2 separate regions of the Homo sapiens genome follow, and region 2 is linked to region 1. The links are contacts of gene promoters, found by promoter capture Hi-C in human tissues and cell types (Jung and others, 2019). All regions are on one chromosome and are shown on one strand. Each heading gives the region's core, a stretch centred on a gene start or on the middle of the fragment in contact. The rest is flanking DNA. Distances are from core to core; before and after follow the strand shown. Region 1 holds the start of DIRAS2 (DIRAS family GTPase 2). Region 2 has its middle 44 kb from the start of DIRAS2.

Region 1 (3,290 bases), core at 441-2,940:
CTCATGAGGAAACTGCTTTGCTGAGAATGCTGGGTTGTTAGACACAAGCTGAAAAGTGACTTCCACAACTTGGCATTCAATCTGTATGTTTTCTGAGTCGCCTCTTAGGAACAATTCTATTAAAGCTGTAACAAAGAAAGATTCTGGAGGTTTCTACAATAACCATGAACACATACTTCCCATCTGCAGGGATCACTGAAGTGTGAGCAGCAGTTCTGTGCCTTGGTATAGACAGCAATACCCCCTCCTTTCTCCTTCCTTTCCCTGTGCTTGCCCGGGACTATTACCAAATTAAATGCCATATGTTAAATGGGATGAAAATGTTTCCTTGCCACTGTATCTTTTATTTCTATAAAATGAACTATGTGTCTTCCTGTCCCCAGCCCACAAAGCCTCCTGCATTTCCAGAGATAGATAAAATTGTGGACAATTTTCAATTTCAGACAACAACCAAGAAGAAAAAAAAGTATGATTCCCCTACAAATTTGTTAAATTTATTCTAATTTTATCCTCCCCTTTTCTCTCCCTCCCCCTCCACCTCCTCAAATCCAAATGTCACTGGAAATGGAGCACATTGTGACTGATTTGAAATGTAAAATGCTCCAGACTTTTAGCGTTACCTGGAAAATCTTCCTCAAAAATAATATTTTTGAAAATTTTTAGTTTGAAGCAGAAAAGTTCTGATATGCTGGACTAGCTTCTCACATCTGAAGGGATCCATTTAAAAGATAACGAGGGCAAATATGTAAAATAAATTCCTAGGGAAGGCAAGCTGTGTCTCTGCACAGTAGGAAGAAACTGAATTCCACCACAATGTTGTATTCCAGCATTCAATGGATGTAACAGATGATTCACAGAGCTTCTAGTTTAAAAGTCTCCCAAACCCACATAGAATGTGAATTGGAGTTTTAAAGAGGAAAAACAGCATTTTTCAAGAGAGAAGGAGAGAGGCAGGTTCCCACAACGCCAGAAGCCAGCACTGCTTTTCAGGCGAGCCTGGGAGCTGTCAGCAGTCATTGTCATCTGATGGGAAACCACAGTCTTACAACTAAGGACTGGATGCAGCCCCTTGCCCATCTTCTGCTCTTACAACAAGGAAGCGGAAAGGAGCACATGTAGATATCATGAAACACATTCTTTAAGAAGACAAACAAAAGATTTAGACAGGTCTCGGCCAAGCGCATGAAGTGAAGGAGTCGAGGATGAAAGCATGCCGAACCAAACGGCAGTCCCTAGCGTGCTTGGCTTTTTTCTCACTTTAGACCACATCTTCTTACTCTTTTCCTAAATCCATTAAACTTCCACATTAACAGAAACACCTGCACAGTAGAATTTTCCAAAACGGTAAATCCTGTTTTGGAAGGAATCCCTAATAATACGTAAGATACAGATTTTTAAAAAAGAACATGTTTTAGACAAGGACAGCATGATGCTCACCCTCCCTAACAAGGATACAGAAATGCAGATTTCTTCCCCTCTTACCAACTCCAGTACACGCTGACTCGCCCTCCCTGAGAGCGGTAATCCCTTTCCAGGGGCTGGCAAACAATCATGCCAAAGCCGCCCGTGCCCCAATGCGGACGCAGCGAAGCCACGGCAGAAGGGGGAAATCGGTTACCTGGGGAAGAACACAACTCCGCTCAGAGCTTCTTCAGAGCTCCACTCGCGCAGGACAGGGCAGCGCAGGGTGTGTGGATGCGGCTCCTCCCGGAGGCAGGCGCAGCGCACTCCCTCCCGCCGCCGTGACGATGCTGTCAGCTGCTCGCCCGCCGTGCGCCCTGCACCGCCCACCGGCCGTGCTCCCTGCGCCCAGCGCCCTCGCGCTCCACCCGCTCGCAGCCCCTGCACCTGCGCTGGCCTGAGCCGCTCCGGCCTGGCACTGTCACCGCCGCTGCACGCTCCTCCTACTCTCTTCAATCTCTGCCTTCTCAGATGTGCCAACTGCTGCAGAGGCTGCTGCTCCTGCTTAAATGGCGCCTGTTCGCCTCCAAAGAGCTTTTAGGTGCCACCTACTGCATGCTCTTGGAATAGATGGCGAGGACTGGAATTTTCTGATAATTTAATGAATTAAAATAATTCCATTGAAAGGGAACCAGATTCTTTTGTTCGCATTGCGAACTATAATCGCTACTAACCATATAGACTTTTTTTTTCCATTTCCAGATTTTAACTTTTAAAAACCGACTCATTTAAAGGCAGACGAAATGCCCTGCCCCATACCATAGCCAACCACACAGTGTAGATTAATATATTCTAATTTAATAGGATCCTATGACAACACCGCCATTGGCAAGCTTGGATTAGAATTGCTTTTTCACTGAGTGGTTTCACATTAGCATTTCAAGCAAATGACCACGTTTATTTCCTGACATTGATAAACAATTTTGTCAAAGACGCGTTGATTAAAAAACAGGTGAATCAGCAAGAAAAAATATTAATGGCTAACAATTCTGTGCAGGCATTTTTAAAAGTGCTTGAGCATAACATTGATCCATGTTAAGTTTAAACTACAGACTGAAGGAAGATTTCTTCTCTTGGTTATATTACTCATTCTTTTGTAATACCAAATATGCTAAAAGACTTGAGCAAAATTAATATTCTGTAGTTCTTTACATTTGATTTTTGTTGTAGAATCCTATTTATCTGTTTTAATCCCGTCTTCACTTTCTAAATAATTAAAACATGTTAACCTTTGAAGTTCATTTCCATAGTAAAATTCTGCCCTGCTATTCACAGGAAATATGCTTTTTAAAAATCATACTTAAAAACTACGCATTTTACAACTTATAGTCAAGAAAACTTATTTTATTCCCCAGTTCATCCTAATTCTGGCCTTGATCCTACAGCCATTGGAATATAAAAATAAAAATACACTCTTTTTACTAAAGTCATTTAAGGCTACTTCAACAAACCTGCCCCTACACTAATGATGTCTAAAAGCAGAGTGGTCACCCTGTCCTCCACAGTCTCCTCTTCATTGCAAAGGAATATATGGCCACTCAGAAACCCATCCCAGAGGAGGCTCCAAATATGATGACAGTGGATTCTGAGCACTGCCTGATGCAGTTTCTGGGTCCTGAAACAACCTTCCAGTTTTATAAGTCAGGATGTTGTTTTCCATGACAACCAAAATGTAGGTTATCAGGTTAAATGACAAAATGGAATTTAAGAACTAAACAAAGGAGGGTAAAAAGATTAAATAAGCAAAAATCCAGTGCTAGTATGGAAGCAGGGAGAGCAAATCAGGAGCTGATAAAGAGAGCCAGTTCTATGCTGAATATCCCACAATG
Region 2 (3,290 bases), core at 458-2,957, 44 kb after region 1:
ACCATATCCCCCAGGCATGGGTTTAGAAAGAAACACAACATTCTAGAACAGTCACCTTTGTGAAGCATAAGCTATTTTTGTTCATTAATCAGTCGCATTCTTTTCTCTTTCTTTTTAAAAGAAAGTCTCCTAGACAAGCCATAAATAATGTTAAAATGTTCCTAACATTGAAAAGCTCAAGCCATGATTCCCTATTTATGTTTCCCTAGCTTTGCAAAGCAAATTGAGCAGCTAGGAAAGAGGACAATTTTTATTTTTGAAAATCAAAATGTTACTTGATGTTAAAAGCATGTTTTCAACCATCAAGCACAAACTCCAATGTGCCTTAAGCCCAAGATGGAGTCAGCAACTCCCTTCAGTCATGCCAGCTGGAACTCAGGACCAGGCACAGAGCAATCACTTATCCTAATTGGGACTGCAGGCTGGTGAGGAGTGCAGATCACCTCCTGGTTTCTCCTTTTCTTCTTGCAACCAGGAAAATGCAATTAAAAAAAGATATTATACATCATAGACACTTTTGACTAAGAATGAGGGGAGACCAATCTCAGATTTAAAACCACTGGGGGAATCCAAATAGGTTATCAAATTCTGCTTCAGTATACATCATGTTTAAGCTTAAGAAAAATGTTTTTTTCCCTGAGTTAAAAATAAATATATTTGGTGGGGATGGAGCCAAGATGTCCAAATAGGAACAGCTCCAGTCTACAGCTCCCAGTGTGAGTGATGCAGAAGATGGGTGATTTCTGCATTTCCAACTGAGGTACCGGGTTCATCTCACTGGGGAATGCCGGACAGTGGGTACAGGACAGTGGGTACAGCGCACCGTGCGTGAGCCGAAGCAGGGCGAGGCATTGCCTTACCTGGGAAGTGCAAAGGGTCAGGGAATTCCCTTTCCTAGTCAAAGAAAGGGGTGATAGATGGCACCTGGAAAATAGGGTCACTCCCACCCTAATACTGTGCTTTTCCAATGGGCTTCACAAATGGCACACCAGGAGATTATATCCAGCACCTGGCTCGGAGGGTCCTACGCCCACAAAGCCTCACTCATTGCTAGCACAGCAGTCTGAGGTCAAACTGCAAGGTGGCAGCGAAGCTGGGGGAGTGGCGCCCACCATTGCCCAGGCTTCAGTAGCTAAACAGAGTGGCCAGGAAGCTTGAACTGGGTGGAGTCCACCACAGCTCAAGGAGGCCTGCCTGCCTCTGTAGGCTCCACCTCTGGGGGCAGGGCACAGACAAACAAAAGACAGAAATAACCTCTGCAAACTTAAATGTCCCTGTCTGACAGCTTTGAAGAGAGTAGTGGTTCTCCCAGCACGCAGCTTGAGATCTGAGAATGGGCAGACTGCCTCCTCAAGTGGGCCCCTGACCCCCAAGTTGCCTAACTGGGAGGCACCCCCAAGTAGGGGTAGACTGACACCTCACATGGCTGGGTACTCCTCTGACACAAAACTTCCAGAGGAAGGATCAAGCAGCAGCATTTGTGGTTCACTAATATCCACTGTTCTGCAGCCACCGCTGCTGACACTCAGGCAAACAGGGTCTGGAGTGGACCTCCAGTAAATTCCAACAGACCTGCAGCTGAGGGTCCTGACTGTTAGAAGGAAAACTAACAAACAGAAAGGACATCCATACCAAAAACCCATCTGTACGTCACCATCATCAAAGACCAAAGGTAGATAAAGCCACAAAGATGGGGAAAAAACAGAGCAGAAAAACCAGAAACTCTAAAAATCAGAGCACCTCTCCTCCTCCAAAGGAACGCAGCTCCTCACCAGCAACGGAACAAAGCTGGATGGAGAATGACTTTGATGAGTTGAGAGAAGAAGGCTTCAGAAGATCAAATTACTCCAAGCTAAAGGAGGAAGTTCGAACCAATGGCAAAGAAGTTAAGAACTTTGAAAAAAAATTAGATGAATGGATAACTAGAATAACCGATGCAGAGAAGTCCTTAAAGGACCTGATGGAGCTGAAAACCACTGCACGAGAACTACGTGACGAATGCACAAGCCTCAGTAACTGATGCAATCAACTGGAAGAAAGGGTATCAGCGATGGAAGATGAAATGAATGAAATGAAGCATGAAGAGAAGTTTAGAGAAAAAAGAATAAAAAGAAATGAACAAAGCCTCCAAGAAATATGGGACTCTGTGAAAAGACCAAATCTATGTCTAATTGGTGTACCTGAAAGTGACGGGGAGAATGGAACCAAGTTGGAAAATACTCTGCAGGATATTATCCAGGAGAACTTCCCCAATCTAGCAAGGCAGGCCAACATTCAAATTCAGGAAATACAGAGAACGCCACAAAGATACTCCTCGAGAAGAGCAACTCCAAGACACATAATTGTCAGATTCACCAAAGTTGAAATGAAGGAAAAAATGTTAAGGGCAGCCAGAGAGAAAGGTCAAGTTACCCACAAAGGGAAGCCCATCAGACTAACAGCTGATGTCTCAGCAGAAACTCTACAAGCCAGAAGAGAGTGGGGGCCAATATTCAACATTCTTAAAGAAAAGAGTTTTCAACCCAGAATTTCATATCCAGCCAAACAAAGCTTCATAAGTGAAGGAGAAATAAAATACTTTACAGACAAGCAAATGCTGAGAGATTTTGTCACCACCAGGCCTGCCCTAAAAGAGCTCCTGAAGGAAGCACTAAACATGGAAAGGAAAAATCGGTACAAGCCACTGCAAAAACATGCCAAATAGTAAAGACCATCAAGGCTAGGAAGAAGCTGCATCAATTAACGAGCAAAATAACCAGCTAACATCATAATGACAGGATCAAATTCACACATAACAATACTAACCTTAAATGTAAATGGGCTAAATGCTCCAATTAAAAGGCACAGACTAGCAAATTGGATAAAGAGTCAAGACCCATCTGTGTGCTGTATTCAGGAAACCCATCTTACATGCAGAGACACACATAGGCTCAAAATAAAGGGACAGAGGAAGATCTACCAAGCAAACGGAAAACAAAAAAAGGAAGGGGTTGCAATCCTAGTCTCAGATAAAACAGACTTTAAACCAACAAAGATCAAAAGAGACAAGGCCATTACATAATGGTAAAGGGATCAATTCAACAAGAAGAACTAACTATCCTAAATATATATGCACCCAATACAGGAGCACCCAGATTCATAAAGCTAGTCCTTAGAGACCTACAAAGAGACTTAGACTCCCACACAATAATAATGGGAGACTTTAACACCCCACTGTCAACATGAGACCGATCAACGAGACAGAAAGTTACCAAGGATATCCAGGAATTGAACTCAGCTCTGCACCAAGA

The links. The method cuts DNA at HindIII sites, captures the fragments that hold promoters and counts their contacts. A contact is called where the count stands out against the background at its distance.
Region 2: a contact is called between a fragment that was not itself captured here and the fragment with the promoter of DIRAS2 in region 1, in 2 of the 25 tissues and cell types used here (mesenchymal stem cells and spleen).

What each region holds. Positions count from the first base shown.
Region 1 is chr9:90,641,134-90,644,423 of GRCh38, forward strand. It overlaps DIRAS2 (DIRAS family GTPase 2), which reads right to left and starts at 1,691. Exons shown (of 2, transcript NM_017594.5): 1 at 1,619-1,691. RefSeq lists a silencer at 1,630-1,679. The HindIII fragment of the contact is 18,185 bases long and covers 1-3,290 here.
Region 2 is chr9:90,685,611-90,688,900 of GRCh38, forward strand. No RefSeq gene overlaps it. Among named protein-coding and RNA genes, the nearest start is that of DIRAS2, 44 kb to the left of the region's middle. The HindIII fragment of the contact is 3,580 bases long and covers 1-3,290 here.